2 separate regions of the Homo sapiens genome follow, and region 1 is linked to region 2. Evidence: promoter capture Hi-C in 16 types of primary human blood cells and fetal thymus (Javierre and others, 2016). All regions are on one chromosome and are shown on one strand. The core of a region is centred on a gene start or on the middle of the fragment in contact, and the rest is flanking DNA. Distances in the headings are between cores, read along the strand shown.

Region 1 (4,624 bases), core at 832-3,331, 1.4 Mb before region 2:
CCCCACCCCATATGACAAATATGTGTATGAACAAAAAGAAGTCATCAAGGTCCTTGCTCTTAACAGCGACACCAGCATGGGGCTGATGGAGGGTGGGAGAAGGAGGAGGAGTGGCCCACTTCTTCATTGGGCCTCCGCAGTCAGCCCAGCTCTGCTGTGCTCTTGAATCAGCATTCTGGGAACTGGGAGTTGGGGGCTGGTGGGAGACAATCCCTCCCAGTGCTCAGGTCCCCTGAAGCTATAGTTTAGGTTGAGGAAAAAGTTTTCTGGTTTCAAAAATATGTGTACATGTGCCATTTCTTTCTTGGGTTTGGTTTATGAAAAGCTCCAGGGGATGTGGGGCAGGTTGGACATGAACTCTGTTCTCACTGGGAGTGACTCCCAAACCCTGGGCTTTTGAGTTTCTGGGCCAGCCAGATTGAGTTTGGTTCAGCTGAAGGATGGAGAACTAGCAGTCAAACTCATAATGAGGAATTCCTAACCGGAGGGTGAGGGTACAAGGGTGAGATTTTTCTTCTCTGTGGCTGCCTTCCTATGCCATTGTTGCCTCTTGCTCTGAGGTTAATAAGAAGTGGAATTAATTTGAATCTGTAAGGATTTGAGTCAGATAAAAGGAAGAACTTCCCTGTACTGGGCTTTCTGCCACAAGTTCTATCTGGTGCAGACCCTTCAGAATGCAAGCACAGGTTGGTGACTGAAGGGGTTTGAGGTGCCCCTCTTGGAACTCTGGAGTAACTAACATCTATTTGGAATGATCTTTCTAGCAAGGATGACCATTGCCTCTGTGTTTCCCTGGGGCAGACCTGGTTTCTAAGTTGTCTCTGGTGGTTATGAATAGCACCCCCTTCACTCTCAAAAGTGTCAAGATGTGACAATAAATTATATGGTCCTACTTTTAGCCTTAAGCCAAGTTCCACTTTGTAATCACGACTTTCCCCTTCAACGTTTAAACCTAAGGAATGGTGATGTTTTCCAACAGTACTGCTTGACTTGAGTGTGGTTCTATGGAGGTGCAGTGAGCTGGGGAATAAAATTTCATTCCTGCTTTTAGGAAATTTACAATTTAAGGAGGAGAGCAAGCAGATGCAGATACAGGCATGTCAATGTACCAGGATGGGAACCAGGAAACATGGTCACAAGAAACCAGCCACAACTCTACAATGGTGTGATAACGGGCTGTGTGACATGCAGCGCATGGGAGATGGAGAGATAAGGGGTGGTGGGCTCAGACACTGTCCAGCTTCTTGCCCTCTGACCTTTGAGTGAGGTTAAGAGGACACTGGCAGCACAGGTTAGGGCTGGAAGCAGAAGCTGCCTGAAGGAAGCAGGCCTAGAGGCGATGTTAAGGCCACCACCTTCAGGGAGAAGAGAAGGGAAGGCTTTCTAGGGGAATACTTGCATCTGAGAAAGAGCCCTGTGCTGGAGTCAATGTCGGTCCTTTTTCCTCTGCTTCGCTAATGTCTTGGGTAAACTAGGCTTGGTTATTTTGACCATTTTCCTCCTCAGTTTCTCTAAGGTGGGGAGACCGGCTTCTGCCATGATTACTTAAAGGCACATTTATGATACTGAAATGTGATTGTAGGGGTGAAAATAATTTGCTGGCAGATATCAGGACTTTTCTGCCCATGTTCAAGGCTCACGCCTGTAATCCCAGCACTGTGGGAGGCCGAGGCGGGTGGATCACTTGAGGTCAGGAGTTCGAAACCAGCCTGGTCCACATGGGGAAACCCCGTCTCTACTAAAACTACAAAAATTCACTGGGCGTGGTGGCAGATGCCTGTAGTCCTGGCTACTCAAGAGGCTGAGGCAGGAGAATCGCTTGAACCCCGGAGGCGGAGGTTGCAGTGAGCCGAGATCGCGCCATTGCACTCCAGCCTGGGGGACAGAGTGAGACTCCATCTAAAAAAAAAAAAAAAAAAGGCAAAGTTTAGAAGTTGAGCCCCTTCTTAAAGGCCAGGTCCAAGAAGAGGGATTCCCTAATTCATGCCACACTGAATTTCCTCCTGATTTCTCATAAGCTCTGTCTGTCTGCGCCATCATACCTGCTTTTTCCTCTGCCTGAAATGATCTTCCCCAACTCTTGTCCTTGCCTGGGAAGCTCTTATTCCATTCTTTAACATCCAAGGAATACCTCTTGGTATTCTCAGGCTATGGTGGGAAGAGTTTCTTCTGAGCTTGGAGGCAGCACTTACTGCCTTGTGTTAGAATTGCTCAACTGTCTCATCTTCCTGTTTGCTCCTTGAGGGCATGGATCAAGTTCTCTTGTGTTTCCCTGGCACTTGGGAGGCCCTTAATGAGTATTTGTGGACCAGCCACACACCTGGAAGAAGAGAGGCCCAGAGGGTAGGAAGCACATTCACATTATATAAAATGTATTTGTAAGGAGGAATACAGTGAACCCACACATGGATAGTGAAAATGAGATGGCTCATTCGGTAGTGAGGATGCAAGCGGCATGGCCTACAGATAGTGGAGCCCTGATTTGCCTGTGCTATATGGGAGTTATTTTCAATGAAGAGCTTGGATTCTATTTTACAGAATCCTCCCTTTTAGGGCTATCATTCTGGTTTATGCTAATGGTATTGTTTTGGGGAAAAATCCTTTGGAATAAAGCACAAAGCCTAACAGGATTTACAGGTTTATTTTCCTTCCAACAAGCTCTCTCTTCATAATTCCTACATTTTAGAAGCCAGGGAGTATTCAGTGTCCTGATTTGAGACTGAAAATAAAGTGTCTATTACAGCACAAGGCCCTGGGACAAAAGGCCTCCTTTGGGGGTGGAATACCGTTCAGCTTTAGATCTCTTTTGAGTAGATTCTTCCATGATACACTTGCTTGGGAAAGAATTGGCTGGTTGATTCTGAAGTTAGGATGTTTGACCTGTGTGCTTCCAGAATAAGATGAGAAGGCAAAGAATGTGCTGCTTCAGGTTGGCTTTTATGTAGCTGAAGAGTTGCTCGGGGCCTTGGGTTGGCTCAATAAGGGACGTGACCTTGAAAAGCTCTTCCTGGTTCCACTTGGCGTCTTTTCTTAGGGAGCTCTGTGCCCAGTCTCTGGCCGCTTTTAGTTCATAAATAGCTTGCATGGTTAGAGGCACAGAAGGTGGAGGCTTTGCGAGGGGGAAGGAATGGAGGAAAGGGGTTGGTGAGAAGAGTAAGGAGGCGGAATTTGGAGGGATGAAATAAAAAGCTGTCTGATTAGGTAATGCACGTTTACAAAACAAAATTTGTACAAAAGCGTATGTGGTAACAAATTTCCTTCCCTCTCATGCCCCCTGTTCACCCAGAGCTCCTTTCCGGGTGGCATCCGTTGTTATCAATATTTTTGTATATCTTTCCAGAAACAGTCTATGCATGTACAACATGTATGTACATAAAATTGGAAACTTGAATTATAAATGGCTTCCTGTTACCTGTAGTCCCTGGTATCCTGAATAATGAGATTAACTTTAGCTCTAAATTATATTTGTGATATTATGATGGTGAATTGTTAGAAAATTACCTGAAGTATCATAATATAAAATAGATGATTACTTTTTTTCCAGGCCAGGTGAGAAAAACCTCATTCTCCTTTCACTTCAAGCGTTCTTGCAGAGCAGGAGAGCAGCCTGATGTAGCCCCCTTGTAACTTGGAGAGATGCTGGAGCACAGTTCCCTTGAGATGTGGAGTCCAGGCTTGTAAGAGCATCAGAATACAGTGATCATGGATCTTGGTTTTAATTTGTGTTCTGTCTGAGAATGTTTTCTCTATGTTCTGTAAAATGAAGTTAATGGTATGCTTAATAAATTGCTTTGAGACTTGGGATCCACGAGGCAGATCCTTATAGCAACGAACATCCCAAGGCAAAAGGTGGATGTTGTAGGAACATTTCATTGTCAGATTTTGGTCTGTTCCTCCTTAGAGATGACAGCCATCTTCATAGTGTCATTGTTGAATCCCAGGGCAGAGATAGTTGGAGCCAGCTTTGTTCCACCCACTGTAATGGAGGGACACAGGGGGCAGTCTTATCATAATCTGGAGAGCAGGTAATCCAAAAAATAATCGATTTGCTTTTGCTATGTATTTATGTAGTCTTTTTTTTAAAGCATTCGTTTACCTTCCTAATTAAGTTTTGCTCAGGTGAATATTAAAATGAGTTTGCATTCTTTGATCTATTGATAAGGGAAATGGCTGGCCTAAATGTATTCAGGGAAAGGCAGTTTGGAGTTTAGAATTTGCGACAATAATTCAGATGCAGATAATTGAGAGTTGATAAAAATGTATTAAATGTTTTAAATGAATAAAAATGTATTAAAACCTGGGGGCATTACATTGACCTTTCCTCCATTTATTTGGATTTAAATAAATGTGATGGAAAGTAAAAGAGAGCTCACTGCATTTTTGGTTTGAATATTCAGGGATTAGTATTTCTCCAGAGGTGGTCTGGGCTGTGGGGGTGAGGCATTCTCTGTTGATGAGCATGGGACTTTCCTATGCATTTTCTAGGTATGCCAGACACTGTTGGCAGATGGTATAGTCAGTCTAGCCACGTACATGCAAAAATCAATTTCCCTCAATTTAAAATGAGCCACAGTTAATTTCGACCTAATTTATTGGCTTATCGACCTGTGAACCCTGGGCCTTC
Region 2 (4,998 bases), core at 1,930-4,429:
CACTCCCATGCTCGTCCCACTAAGCTCCCACTACTGCTAGGAAACTTCTCTCTGAATCAATAATTAATTTCAAAGGCTGCTGCTCTGGCTTAGAAACTCCACAGTCACTTTGTGCAAGTTTTACAGCAGTGCTCAGAAAACCTCAACACTTGGTGTGAGTTATCTGAGGCATCTTCTGGTAGATGCAGGCGAGTCCACCTCTTACTCTGACCTTGGGAAAGGTCACGATTCTTCACAGAATCTGTGAAAGGTCAAGAAGAAAGTGTAGGCCCCTTTTGTAAATGCAACAAAAAAACCCAGTGGCTTCTAGACATAAGGAAATCCCCTGTTTTCTGACCCTTAAAACAGTTCATCTTTAGCCTATTTAATAAATGTCTTATTTTTCATGTTTGCACCCCCCCACCCCCAAAACTCAGGTTGACAAGGGTGACGATGAAAAATAGAGAGGATGTTTGTTTATTTCTCCAAAATATGTCCCCCCTCTGCCACCCCACCAAATGTTATTTCCTATTAGTATTGAAACATAATATGAAGATTTCATAAAACGGAGACCAAAATGACAAACTAGCTATCAGTTGTGAGGTCTCCCACATACTGTTCAGTAGACTCTTTCCCATTAGAAAATAGGTAGACCACTTATTACCTTCCAACCTCGTCTTTTTCTCCCAATTCACTGAGCAGCCACAATCTGCTGCCCTCTCCTGTTGAATACTACATGAGCTGCAGGCTGAAGTGGGGGTAATGAGAACAGGGACCCTGGAAAGCACACATGTATGTCGTCCACCAGTTCACCTTGTAGCATTTCCCCCACCAACCGTTCTTAATGTCCAAGTCCAGTGGACTATTGTGACATTTGTCAAGGTTTTCAACCAGTTGAATATGGCACCCGTGGATGAAAAGGATACACTCTCCATCGTCCAAAGTGCAATTTAAAGTAAGCTCTTCTTTAATGCTCTGGGGAAATTGTAAGTCAAACATCTTTTTAGACTTCAGAGCAAAAAGAGTAGCATTTACATCTCAAATAAAGAGTCAATTTAGTCTTTCATTCACTCGTTGACAACCTATGTCAAGTGTTGTTGTGGGTCAGGTTCCTGGGAAACAGAAGCTGATACAGAGATCCGTGTGCAGAAGTTTATAGATGAGTACTCTTGGTGACAAGAAGGAAGCAAGTTGGAGAATCGGTAGAAGCTGGACTGAGGTGCAGTTACAACAAAGATCTCAGCTGATCCTGATCCCTTGGGGAGCTTCAGAGTTGCTCCACCTCAAGGCAAGGGAAAAGGACCTTGAGACCCCCTCATGGATGCCCTATGGAGGAAGAGTGACCCTGGGTAAACTGTTCTCTTCTACTGAGGACAAGTATAAAAATTAGAAGTTCCTGGATGGAATATTATGAGCAAAAGGGAAAAAATTAAAAAATGAAAAATTTGAAAGACAAAATATTGTGTTTTGGAGGATTTTTTATTTTTATTTTTTTAAGACAGGGTGTCACTTTGTCACCCAGATTGCAGTACAGTAGTGTGATCACGGCTCACCGCAGCCTCAACCTCCTGCATTCAAGCAACCCTTCCACCTCAGCCTCCCAAGTATCTGGGACTACAGGCATGCACCACCATGCTCAGCTAATTTTTGTATTTTTTGTAGAGATGGGGGTCTCACTATGTTGCCCAGGTTGGTCTTGAACTCCTGGCTTCAGATGATCCTCACACCTCAGCCTCCCAAAATGCTAAGATTACAGGCATGAGCCACTGTGCCCAGCCAACAAAATATTTGGAAGACATTTTTGATGAGTAAGACTTTTCCTACCCAAACTTCATCAAATTTATCAGAGTATTAACACTAATTTCAATTAGAGCCAGTAAGTAGTGTTTCCTTTTCATTTTCCAAGCATTGCAGACTGATCTCTGTTTTCTAAACATAAACTTACTAATATTTTACTGTGTGCTCCTGGAAAAACTACATTAAATCTATCTCAATTTGTCCAATTAATGAAAATTAAATACCAGAACTGTTCATATGTACATTGTCTCCCCCACTAGATTATATTCTCCTGAAAAACAAGGAATTTATGTTTTTTATTTGAGCATGTCTCAAAGTAGTGCATACTAGATGCTGTACAGGTGACAAGATGAATGGGTGGATAGAAGGATGGATGGATGGATGGATGGATGGATGGATGGACGGACGGACATATGTATAGATAGATGGGTGGGTAAATGGATGAATGAGTGGGTGAATGGATGAATGCGTGGGTGGATAGATAGATGGGTGGTTGGGTGGATGGATGAGTATTTGCATGTATAGATAGATGGGTGGGTGAATGAATAGGTCATGGACGGATGGATGGATGGATAGATGGATGGGTGAATGGATGGATGGGTGGATAAATGGATGGATGGATGGATGGATGGATGGATGGATGGATGGATGGATGGATGGATAGATGGATAGATGGATGGATAAATAGATGGATGGCTGGCTGGCTGGATGGATGGAGAGATGGATGGATGTGTGGATGAATAGATGGATGGATGGGTGGATGGGGAATGAGTGGGCAGGTAATACATGAGTGAGTGGGTGGATGGAAGGATAAATGGATGGGTGGATGGATGTGTGGGTGGATGGATGGAAGGATGGATGGATGGATAGGTGGATGAATAGATTTGTATTTGTGAGTGGGTGGATGAAAAGATGGGTGGATGGGTGGGTGGACAGATATATAGATTTCAAAAATGAGTATATCTATATGAATGAATGAATTCCTCCCCGACAACAATTATAAATTGATGTCAGCATAGAAATAAAATATTCCCAAAGGTTGAGCAAAAATTATCTAATTGTATTTATCTAATAAACTAGAAAAGTAAAAATAAGGATGACGTCACTACACAGGGACATTTTACAGTATTTCTCCCACCCATGCTCCCTCTAAAAACCTTGCAACTAGTTGATTTACCAGTACTACCCACTTGTGGTAAAACAATTTTTGTCACCAACACATCACTCACACCTCTCTGCCATCAAGATAATACATGTGGTCCCCAAAATGTTCCACCAGGAGGTGTTCTGGGGGCAGCTAACTAAGAGGGGGCTTCCAGACAGATGGAGGAGTTGATACACATGAGGTCACAGATCTACTGCCTCTCCCCCTTTAAAAGAAACTACTCAGCTCCATTTGTCTCAGAATCTAGAGGAAGTTGACAAAGGTGCCACAGCAGCACAGCACAGTATGTGGTGGAGAGTTCTCAGCTTGCTGGCATGGTTCCCCTTGCAAGGTAAGGACTTAGAGTTATTTTTGTTGTTGCTCAGCTGACTTAATGTTTTGCCACATCTACCTATCAGTCAGTCAACTGCATTTACAGAGGAGCTGCTGTAGAAGACAACCCAGGTAACTGCTAATACTTTCCAAGCCATGCTCAAATCATGCATCTGAGGGATGTTACTGCGTTTATTTGATCTCTCGTTCAATGGCTAAGGAGTATAGAAAGGATCATTATAGTGTGTGTCTCTGTGGGTCCTATGTTACGGCAAGATGAAACAAGCTTATTAGGCTCTGTCTTTTAAGGGCATACCAGTTGAAAGAGCATCCGTATTGAATTTTATTTTATTTTATTTATTTATTTATTTATGAGACACAGTCTCGCTCTGTCGCCCAGGCTGGAGTGCAGCGGCACGACCTCGGCTCACTGCAAGCTCCGCCTCCCGGGTTCACGCCTTTCTCCTGCCTCAGCCTCCCAAGTAGCTGGGACTACAGGTGCCCGCCACCACCACGCCCGGCTAATTTTTTTATATTTTTAGTAGAGACGGGGTTTCACCGTGTTAGCCAGGATGGTCTCAATCTCCTGACCTCGTGATCTGCCCACCTCAGCCTCCCAAAGTGCTGGGATTACAGGCGTAAGCCACCGCGCCCGGCCTCCACGTTGAATTTTAAAATTTCCTTGCTGTATAAATCTTAGCCAAACGATTTAATCTCTTTGAAACTCAGTTTCTGCATCTTAAAATGAAAATGATAAAAACTTTTGATCCACCAAACTCCCTGGATTGTTAGAAGGATCAAATTTCAAATGTGAAAGCACTTTGAAAATGATAAAGCGCTGTGCAACACTTATTTAGCTCAGAGGTAATAATGAGACCAATGAAAACTTCGTGTTTATTTTTAAAGAGTAAGTTATACTTTACATTTTACTATAATTTTCAAATTTGGATTTTAGTGCTTAATCCTAATGTAGCATTATGAAAATTAAGGATAGAAGCAGTTACCTTTTTGGAGCAGGTCAAATTATTTTCTACCCAAAAGTGGGGGCAGGGGTGTAGGAAGTGGCTCCTGTTGTCCCTCAGTCTCTGCTTACAATTGTATCAGATTCATGCAAAGGACATCCCTCACAAATCCACTCAAAAATTTTGCTTTTTGTGTGTTTGTTACCAAATATTGAAACTGTAGTTCTGTTTCATGAAATGCACCTATCCTTCTAAATCTACATTTAATCTGGAATGGCATCTGAAGGACGCTACTTTAAAAAACTCGATTTCCTATTTTACATAGTACTTCAATTCCCTATTTTATATACTTCAATTAATGCCTTCTTTTTTTGGTCCCTGTACCCTGAGGCACTTAATAAGGATTCAATTTTGGTAATGAATAATATTAGTTTCTTCATTAAGTGGCTTAAAGAATAGCTAATACATTCAAAAAGAGTACATTTAGACAGCTAAAATTAGGATGATTTCAATTTTTCCAGAGTTTAAAGCCTTTCACTGACCTTAACTTTTTCAGGCTTTGAGTTATTGCCTCATAAAAAATAACTCATAAAAATACATTTTTTAAATAAATAGCAAAAATTATGTTTCAAGGTAAACCTAAATTACTTAAATATTATTTATATAGAGAGGAAAAATATTGTTTCATGCACAGTGCTGAGTACTTTGTGTTAATTACACTTAATCATAGCGGAAGTACTGAGGTAGGTACTAATATCCCCAATTTAAAGATGAGAAAAGAAG

Evidence for each region. Contacts are between HindIII fragments. The CHiCAGO score rates a contact against its expected background, and 5 or more counts as called.
Region 1: a fragment that was not itself captured here is called in contact with the fragment with the promoter of CRTAM in region 2 in 1 of 17 cell types (naive CD8 T cells); the score reaches 6.2 in naive CD8 T cells.

The regions. Positions count from the first base shown.
Region 1 is chr11:121,454,091-121,458,714 of GRCh38, forward strand. All of the region lies in intron 1 of SORL1 (sortilin related receptor 1), which reads left to right. Among named protein-coding and RNA genes, the nearest start is that of SORL1-AS1, 3.4 kb to the left of the region's middle. RefSeq lists a silencer at 185-234. The HindIII fragment of the contact is 6,202 bases long and covers 1-4,624 here.
Region 2 is chr11:122,835,321-122,840,318 of GRCh38, forward strand. It overlaps CRTAM (cytotoxic and regulatory T cell molecule), which reads left to right and starts at 3,180. Exons shown (of 10, transcript NM_019604.4): 1 at 3,180-3,272. The coding sequence starts at 3,227. The HindIII fragment of the contact is 4,925 bases long and covers 1-3,537 here.